Regions from separate parts of the Homo sapiens genome. Here region 2 is linked to region 1. The links are contacts of gene promoters, found by promoter capture Hi-C in human tissues and cell types (Jung and others, 2019). All regions are on one chromosome and are shown on one strand. The core of a region is centred on a gene start or on the middle of the fragment in contact, and the rest is flanking DNA. Distances in the headings are between cores, read along the strand shown. Region 1 holds the start of ZMYM4 (zinc finger MYM-type containing 4). Region 2 holds the start of CLSPN (claspin).

Region 1 (4,988 bases), core at 931-3,430:
ACACTACGATGAAATGCATTAAAATAACACGACTGATGAACAGAAAGAGGGATAGAGGGGTAAATATATGATAAAACAAGTGGAATGCAATTTTTTTTTTGGAGGGGGTTTTGAGACAGTGCCTCCCTCTGTCACCTAGGCTAGAGTGCAGTAGCACGATCTCGGCTCACTGCTACCACCGCCTCCCTGCTACCACCGCCTCCCAGGTTCAAGCGATTCCCCTGCCTCAGCCTCCCGAATAGCTGGGATTACAGGCACCCGCCACCACGCCGGGTTAATTTTTTGTATTTTTAGTAGAGACGGGGTTTCACCATGTTGGCCAGGCTGGTCTCGAACTCCTGGCCTCAAGTGATCCTGCCGCCTCGGCCTCCCAAAGTGCTGGGATTACAGGCGTGAGCCGCTGTGCATGTCCGGAATGCAATGTTAACAGTAGGATCTAGGCGGTTGGGTGTATGACTGCTCCCCGTAAGTTTTATAATATTGACGGATAGTTCAAAATATTTTCCTAATAAATTGTTGGAAAAAATAATACTTGACACTTCTTTGGTCATTTACAATTTAAGCTTTTAAGGAGAGAAACACAGATTAAAGAAACTCCTCTGTGGCATCCCACACAGGCACTATAGTTGGGACAAACCTGGATTCAAATCCTACCTCAACCTTGCAACTAGCTGTGTGATCTAAGTAAATTACTTAAGCCCTCAACACCTAAATTTCCTCATCTGCAAATAGGTTCTAGGAGGAGTTACTATGAAGTTAAATTCTTCACATAAAGGTCTTAGCTCAGTGCCAGGCACACAGTAAGCACTCAAAACATCAGCTGTAGCATCATTACGAGATTACTAATTTTACGCTAAGCTGAAAGGGCATTCTTCATAAAGTAGTAATTTTTTGCCCTTTTGCTAATTGATCGTTTCTGAAACCATTCCCAAAAGGAAGACTCCTAAAAGGAAACTTACTTCTTATCATGCTAAGCGGGGAGGAAGTAAAAGAAAAGTGAGGGATATTGCTCAATCGATAGTACAGTATTGTTCGCCATCTGAAAAAAACCACTCAGAATTAAATAAGGAAAGTTTCCAGACAAACTTTAAAAGGTATTCAAACAACTCCTATGTAGAATTGGCTTCACCTCTGCAGGTTGATTGGGTACATCCCTGTTATGAGAAAACTTGTCGTATTCTTCCAAGTCCCTAATTGCGAGTAAGAGGCTAGGCTAGAACATGACATTCATAGTAGCCAAAATCTTTCTCCTAAATCAGGACATGCCAACGATCCCACTTCTTCACAGGTAAGACCACCACCCCGACTTTGGTCTAGATAACGGCTATGGGGGGAGGGGAAAGGAGGCAGGAAAATGAATTCGCGATGGTGTTACTGAAGAACCCTCCGGTTATTTCTCCTGAGACCCCTCCACGACTTATTCCCGCCACCACCACCCCCACCTGACCTCTCCCCAGTTAACTTCCAGACTCTGATGTACTAAAGATGCACTAAAGATGCACTTAAGAATCTGACACCTCCCCTCCCTGGGCCTAGATATCCCACCCCAGTGCTGGGGAACGTCGGGGGGAGGAAGGCAAACAACGGCCCCCTCCCCTCCCCCCCACCCAGCACCAAATCTTTGTCCCACCTGCCGAGGGACCGCTCGCCAGCGCGCTCCGGACCCAAGGCTGCCTCAGACCTGCCCGCAACCTTGTCCTAACTGGGCCTCGGCGACCCCTCCACGAACCTGAGTATGGCCCATTCCCGGCCCCGGGCCGCGCCCCGCCCCCCGCCGCCCGAGTTCTGCCTCACCTCACCTACCCTCTTTCGGGGGCCGGACTCCACCTCTCTCTCCGCCATGTTGGGCCCCGCTCGGAACCGCTGCGGCTCCCCGCGCGGTGGCGGCGGTACCTCTCGGCCCCCCGGCCCCCGCCCACACTGCAGGCACGGCCGCCTCGCGGCAGCTTCCCCGGACCCGGCCGGGCCTTGCGCCGAGAGTGGGGAGGGGGCGGATGCCGCGCGCCGGGCCGCAGCTTCTGAGATCCCACGGGTCCGCGCGTGGGCGGGAGGGCCTGCCCGGGGACGGGGTGGGGGCCGGGACTCGGGGGGTTAATGGCCTCCAAGGGGCCCCGTGAGTAGGATTATTTTCTCTCAGAGAAATTCCTCCGCCTGCGGTTTCTTAAAGGGATCACCAAATCAGCCCCTTGCGCGCGCCCCTGATGCGCAGGCGCACCCTAAGTCCCTCCTTCCTTTCCCACCAAGCCCCCGGTCCTGAGCGTGCGCGGTAAGTGGCCATGGGTAGGCCAAATCCTGCAAGTCTCTTTGCTGCCAGCAGCTGCTCCCACCACTCAACTATGGCCGCTCCCTTAAAGGGACCATGACGCAGGGATGAAGGAGAAATGAAAGAAATTACTGGAAAGACAATCTGGAGAATTGGGTGCAATGTCAGTGAAGGGTTCCACATCACCATCTTACACCTGACTACAGTGGTACCATTGAAGAGGGAAAGTCATGGTAAGCTGAAGTTCTCAGTGGACCTCTGAACATGAAGAATCCCAAACCAATGAGGGAACAAGACAGTCATCTCAAGGAAAACCAACTTTCCTCCCTTTCGACTGCCTGTTCTGAAGCACAAGGCATAGAATATCAAGAGCCAACTCCTATAACCTCACCTTAAAATCAAAGCTTTTGGTGATTTTGAAGATTGAACCAACAACTGGAAATAATTTCTTCAATAGTAATTTATCCTTAGAACATCAAAATGGAGAAGGATCTTAGGGAACCATTTACTCCAGTGCTCCCAATGATAAAATTGCAGCCTGATCATGGGAAGGAATTTGTCCCAATGTAACTAATGGCTGGTGTGGAGTTGGAATCAAGATTACAGTCTCAGTCCTCCAGGCTGTCTTCAGGCGAGAGATAAATTTGGTTTAATTTGATATCCCTAGAAGATTAAAAATTGAAGTTTCATGGTATTTGGAGAATATCATAATTCTCTTGTGAAGATGTAATGATTTGCAGATGATGGGTGTCCTCATTCACCTCTATTGAAGGAGCTTGACAATCTGCCTTAAAGGATAAGCATCTTATTTCTAAGCAGGAAACCAGGAAGTAGATTTGGGTCTATCTTGTTCCAAAACTGGGTCCTAAGCTGAAAATCGCTGAAAAGAATGAGGGCTTCATTCATTCCTCTTCTGTTCATTCTAGTTCCCACAAGCTTTGGGTGCAGAAAAAATTAAGTTTATAATGATAGTTCAGGGACAGTGGGGAGACATATAGTAAGAAATACAAAGAAGATGCCTCCTGAAGGTCATTTCCCATGACAAGACATATTCAAGTGGGAATGATAACTCCTGAAGTCACAGGATAATGAGATGTAACTTCTGTTTTCTGTTTTATTTAGCACTTGGTAGCTATTCTGAAACAGATGTTTTCTAATCTGTAATATTTTGCTGAAAACTTTTGGTGAAATTGCTGGAAGTTTCCATACTGGCCTTGCTTATGCCTTTAGCACTGTCTTTAATTTCACTCCTCGGTAGGAGAGAAGAAAGAAGGACAAAGAAATATGTTCATTTCAGCCAGAATTTTAAAAACATGTTCCCTTTAGTTCCATGTCCAGGACAAGAAAGAAAAGAGGAGCCAAGAAAAGATAATTCCAGGGAATGTGGCTACATAAAACTTGTAGTGGTTTCCACCTGTTTTATTGGCAGTGGAATACTCCCTTCTAATAAAATCTGGTGGTTTAAAATGTGGAGCTGCTAAGTTGGGAGTGTAAGTGGGGAACCCACTAGTCTATTCACCCAGCTTCACCCTTGCACTCTCTCTCCTTTCATGCCCCCTCCCATCATTACAGAAATGTTGAGTTTCTCAGATCACAGTTTAAACTTATTAGTTTAGTCTAACTCCACATTTTCAAGATGAAGCCTCTGAGGCTTAGAGAAGATATGATTTGCTTGAGATCACACACAGGATTAGTAACAGTATCAAGACTGAAACAGACATCTTGATCCTCAGGGCTCTGTCCTACACAGACTGTTTCTGGAGGTATTAGCAATGTGTTAGGTCTCGAATAATAGGTGGGATTTGTGCATTTCAGATAATATACAAGCATAACATGAATGTTCAGGGCAGTCATCCATATGGAGGAATAAGACAAGAGAAAACCATTTAGTGAGCACTGAAAAGTTAATCATAATTTTATAGAAGGATTCACAGAGCTTAAGTGACTAGTCCAAGATCATTCAGCACAGAGGCCAAGTCAGAATTCAAAGCCTTGTTCTTTCTGACTTATTTGAAATATCGTAAAGTAGACATTGTAAATTGGTGGCCTTGTGACCAAATCTGTCCCACAGAAATGCATTTGATTTGTATTGTGTATAGCTATATGATCTTGGTCAAGGTAATTGTCCTGTGCCTCACTTTCCTTATCTGTAAAATGGGACACCAAGAGGATTAAATTAGTTAACATCTCTAAATCTCCTAGAACACTGTTGGTTCCTAATACCATATGAGTATCATTATTATTATTATTATTATTTTTTGAGACAGAGTCTCACTCTGTCATCGAGCTAGAGTGCAGTGGCGCGATCTGGGCTCACTGCAAGCTCCGCCTCCCGGGTTCACACCATTCTTCTGCCTCAGCCTCCCGAGTAGCTGGAACTACAGGCACCCGCCACCATGCCCGGCTAACTTTTTGTATTTTTAGTACAGACTGGGTTTCACTGTGTTAGCCAGGAGGGTCTTGATCCCCTGACCTTGTGATCCGCCTGCCTCGGCCTCCCAAAGTGCTGGGATTACAGGCGTGAGCCACCGCGCCCGGCCATTATCTTTTTTTTAAAAAAAAAAAGTTAAATCATATATCAACATTTTAAATGGGATATTTCACCTACAAGTTCAGTGCTCTGACTTGTTTCAAAAAAAAAAAAAAAAAAAAACTAGACTATAATGGGGCTAGTATCTTGCAAATATCAAACAGATTTCTTTTAACTTTCTTAAGTCATCTTCTG
Region 2 (4,988 bases), core at 1,040-3,539, 500 kb before region 1:
TTTCCTCATCTTCTAAGAAAGAGATAATAATATTACAAGTTTACTCTGAAGATTAAATAAGATAACACTTATAAAATCCTTGCAACTGTTTCTGCCACTGAGTAAGGCTTCAATAAACGTTAGCCCTCCATATATGATGGGGAGTGCCATAGATGTATACCTGGGAATCGTTGATGTAGAAATTAATAGTAAATGGATGAAAAGGTGGATAAACCAAGACACAAAAAGAGAAGAGGATGGATGATGGGCTCTTGTTGGTGGGGACAGAAGTGGATTGAGAGATGGTGGGGAAGTAAAGAAATGAAGATGTGGAGAGGGAGCTTTTTTCTGAACCCAGCTAAAGGTGGAAACTTGGAAGAGGAGGCCAGTGGATTGGGTGAAGAACCAACCATTTGGTATACCTGTGACTGAGGAGGTTCTCAGGATGCAGGACTTTTAGTGCTAAAACTAGGAAAGTCCTGGGCAAGCTGGGCCAAGCTGGCCACACTGGCAGTGGATATGACCATGGAGGGTGAAGTGAGCAATAAATACTCTGACCTTTCTTTCCTGGTGGCCTCTCATCTCCTTACAGTAACCTTATAAGGTGTCTTTACAGGGGCCTGACCCAACCAGAAGGGCAAGGGAGCTGGGATAATACAGTCTAGAGAGGTCAGCCTTGCCTTGACACACACCAGGGTAAAGGAAGGACAGAGAATTGACCTGGAGAGGCAAAAAATAATGGCCAGCACAGTGGCAAAACTGGGATTAGAATTGTCTGGGATAGGCCAGGTGCGGTGACTCACACCTGTAATCCCAGCACTTTGGGAGGCTGAGACGGGCGGATCACGAGGTCAGGAGTTCAAGATCAGCCTGGCCAAAATGGTGAAATCTTGTCTCTACTAAAGTTACAAAAAATTATCTGAGCGTGGTGGCACATGCCTATAATCCTAGCTACTCAGGAGGCTGAGGCAGGAGAATCGCTTGAACCCGGGAGGCGGAGGTTGCAGTGAGCCGAGATCACGCCATTGCACCCAGCCATGGTGACAGGGAGAGACTCTGTCTCAACAAAAAAAAAAAAAAAAAAAAAAGAACTGTGTCTGGGATAAACCTGATTTCAGAGCTTCAATTCTTTTTCCAGCCTTGTTTAAAGGTAGAATGCCCTCTAGGAGTGATGAGTGCTTTCTACATCCTCAAATTAACTCTACAGAGAATTATAAAGATTATCCAACCATATTCTTTGGTATCTGAGCAGCCCACAAAACTTTTTTCTTTAGAGACAAGGTCTCCCTCTATCGCCTACGCTGAAGTGCAGTGGTGCGATCATAACTCACTCTAACCTCAAACTCCTGGACTCAAGCCATCCTCCCACCTCGGCCTCCCAAAGCGTTGAGATTACAAGCGTGAGCCATGGAGCCCGGCCCTCTTTAAAAAATAAAAGTGGGCCGGGCACAGTGGCTCACGCCTGTGAGGGGTATGAGGCCTCCCAGCACTTTGGGAGGCCGAGGCGAGGATCATTTGAGATCAGGAGTTCGAGACCAGCCTGGCCAACATGGTGAAACCCCGTCTCTACTAAAAATACAAAAATTAGCCAGGGGTTGGTGGCGGGTGCCTGTAATCCTAGCTACTCAGGAGGCTGAGGCACGAGAATCGCTTGAACCCGGGAGGCGGAGGTTGCAGTGAGCCGAGATCGCGCCACTGCATTTCATCCTGGCTAACAGAGGGAGACTCCATCTCAAAAAAAAAAAAAGTGTGTGTGTATACACATACATGTGTATGTGTATATATGTGTATGTATATATGTGTGTACATATGTGTGTGTGTGTGTATATATATATATATATATATATATATATATATATATATATATTCAGTGGTAAGTGTCATGTACAAGAGGCACACAGGATCTAGCTGCTCCAGAAATGAAGTCAGTGGAGAAAATCCCCACGGGAACCTTGGAATTCCTCTAAAAAGTTCAGGTACAGGACACTCCCAGGTGCCCAGGAACCGTTTCCCAGCTCACTTCCCCCCGAAAGACTCACCCCTCCAATCGCACTCGATGCTTTGGCAAGTGTCAAAGGTCAAAGACCACGGCTCGCCTGGTACCGACTGCCCCGCCCCCGTGCACCTCCAGCTCCCCCAGGCTCCGCTACCAGCAGCTGCGACCCGCCAACTCAGCCTGGGTAATAGGAGATTGGGCGGCCAGAGGCGCTGCGTGATTGGTGGGTCGGAAGGGGGCGGGGACTCGCTGGAAAGCCCCCTCTGGATTGGTGCAAACCATCTGGGTGGGACCTCCACTCTGGCTGGGCGGGAAAGCAAGAACAGCACTGCTGGGCTGGAGACGGCGGGAGCCGCTGCTCTCCGGCTGAGGGAATCAGAGACAGCTCCGTCCCTAGTGGAGCGCAGGGGAGGCAGAAGTCATGACAGGCGAGGTGGGTTCTGAGGTGAGTTTATGCACACGCCCCCCACGGGGGCTTAGAAGGCCGGGCACCGAGAGGTTAGGTGGGGCCGGGGTAGACCCCGCTGACCCGAGGCGCCCGGGCGGGAGGACTGCGGCTCCCGGCGTTCGCCGCGCCGGCTCCCGCGGCCTCGAGACTCGGCCGGGATGGGTTCCGACCGGGCATCCCGTCCCGCCGCCGGGCTTCCCGCGCTTCGGGCTCCGTGGCCGGAGAGCTCCAGGTCTCTGCGGCGCGCACTGCCGGCAGCCCAGCCCCTCTTCAGCCGGTTCCTGCCGCCAGCCCTCCCCTTTGGCGCGTTTCCTGTCGCGGAAGCTCCTCCCCTCAGGGTGCTCTGAAAGCCGGGAGGCTCTAGCCGAACCCGGCCGCAGCGGTGCGGGGGGATTCTCCGCAGAGAGAGGGCGAGCGAGGGTGTTAGGGAGTTCCACACTGGGCCTGGGAGGGGCCCTGGAGGTCATCGCGCGCAGGCCCTTTGCGTTTTCCGACCGGGCCCCGAGTGGGGAAGTCACCGCTGGGGCTCCTGGCTGGTGGCTGGCAGCTCCCTGGCGAAATTGGGCATAGAAAACAGATGTTTCCAGAGCTGTGTCCTTTCTGGGCCGGATTCGGGCAAGGCACTCCCGCCTTAGGAGCAAAATTTAAAGGGGCGCCAAAACCCTCAATCAAACTCATATTTTAATGCAATATTTTTAAAAAACCAAAATTAATGCAAAAACTTTTTATGATTTGATATTGAACAAAATATCAGACGTTTAAACAAAGACGAGATCCGACCAGTCATTTGCACGACCTTGCCTCAATCACCTCACCCTAATTCCATCCCTGTTTCCAATAAACTTTATTTACAAAAGCGGGCATATTATTTACCTCATGAGCTGTAGATTATTGATTTAATTTTTTAAAAAATATTGCATTAATGTTATTCATTTTGATTACTGAATTTTTTGAGACCTCACCCCACCCTGTTACTGGCCCTGCCCTTTGACGTTGCTGCAAATTGCCTAGAAGATAATCGTCATTCAAAGCAGCCCTATTCCTTGAGCTGTCTGGTTACCTAAATTCGGTTTCCACACTCACAAACAGAAGTAATAGTTTTACTGCTTTGGATTGTTGAGAGGATCATCAGTGCATACATATTAATTCTCAGCAATCCCAGCACTTCGGGAGGCTAAGGCCGGCAGATTGCTTGAGCTCAAGAGTTCGAAACCAGCCTGCATAGAAAACATGGCAAAACCCCGCCTCTACAAAAAAAAAAAAATTAGCCGGGCGTCGCCTGTGGTCCCAGCTACTCGGTCCCAGCTACTCGGGTGGCTGAGGTGAGAGAATCCTTTGGGCCTGGGAGGTCAAGGCTGCAGTGAGCCATGATCCTGCCACTGCACTCCAGCCTAGGTGACAGAGTGAGACACTGTATCAAAAAAAAAAAAAATTTGTACCTTGCATTCAAATCAATTTAATAATTTTTTTTTTTTTGAGACGGAGTCTCGCTCTGTTGCCCAGACTGGAGTGCAGTGGCACAATCTCGGCTCACTGCAACTTCTGTCTCCTGGATTCAAGCGATTCTCCTGCCCCAGCCTCCTGAGCAGCTGGGACTACAGGCACACACCACCACGCCCAGCTAATTTTTGTATTTTTAGTAGATACGGGGTTTTACTGTATTGGCCAGGCTAGTCTCGAACTCCTGACCTTGTGATCCACCCACCTCGGCCTCCCAAAGTGCTGGGATTACAGGCGTGAGCCACCATGCCTGACCAATTTAATAATTTTTTGAGAAACCACTCAGCTGAGGCCTTGTGCCCTGTTACATTACTGATGTTCATATTTCTCCCTTTATTAATAAGTTGATTCAGAGCCCTGAGAACACTAAGGAGGTAGACTTGGCATCTAGGGTTAGCTTTAAGGTCACTAACTGATCAAGTCACCTAACACACCCCTCCTCCTTAGGTTTTTATTTGCGACTTTTTAAACTGTCTTATTTAGAAATTTTCAAACCTATACAACCGTAGAAAGGATGGTATAATGAACCCATCACCTTACTTCAACTACAGTTTGAATATCTCTCGTCTGAAATGCTTGGGACCAGAAGCGTTTTGAATTTCAGATTCATTTTGGATTTTGGAATATTCGCATACACATAATGAGATATCTTGGGGGAGGGACCCAAGTCTAAACATGAAATTCAGTTATATTTCATATATACCTTACACACATAGTCTGAAGGTAATTTTATACAGCATTTTAAAATAATTTCGTGCATGAAGCAAAGGTTTTACTGCAGCTCATCATATGAGGTCAGGTGTGGAATTTTCATCTAGTGGCATCATGTCAGTGCTCAAATATTTTGGAATTGGGAGCATTTCAGATTTTCAGGTTAGAGATGTTCAACCTGTATTTTCAAGTCATGGCCAATCTTGTTTTATTCATACAGCTACCCATTTTTCCTCTCACAGGATTATTTGGAAGAAAATCCAAGATATCATATTATTTGAACCACAAAGATTTTAGTGTGCATATCTAACAAACAAGAGCTTTCCAAAAATAGATACTACGATATTATTACCA

Evidence for each region. The method cuts DNA at HindIII sites, captures the fragments that hold promoters and counts their contacts. A contact is called where the count stands out against the background at its distance.
Region 2: the fragment with the promoter of CLSPN here is called in contact with the fragment with the promoter of ZMYM4 in region 1 in 2 of the 25 tissues and cell types used here (mesenchymal stem cells and small bowel).

Annotation. Positions count from the first base shown.
Region 1 is chr1:35,265,901-35,270,888 of GRCh38, reverse strand. It overlaps ZMYM4 (zinc finger MYM-type containing 4), which reads right to left and starts at 2,180. Exons shown (of 30, transcript NM_005095.3): 1 at 1,804-2,180. The coding sequence starts at 1,842. RefSeq lists silencers at 1,661-1,790, 1,861-2,220 and enhancers at 2,351-2,410, 2,431-2,490. The HindIII fragment of the contact is 5,206 bases long and covers 1-2,933 here.
Region 2 is chr1:35,767,279-35,772,266 of GRCh38, reverse strand. CLSPN (claspin) reads left to right here and starts at 2,289. Exons shown (of 25, transcript NM_022111.4): 1 at 2,289-2,420. The coding sequence starts at 2,397. It overlaps CLSPN-DT (CLSPN divergent transcript), which reads right to left and starts at 2,172. Exons shown (of 3, transcript NR_199050.1): 1 at 2,019-2,172. RefSeq lists a silencer at 2,447-2,676. The HindIII fragment of the contact is 25,943 bases long and covers 1-4,988 here.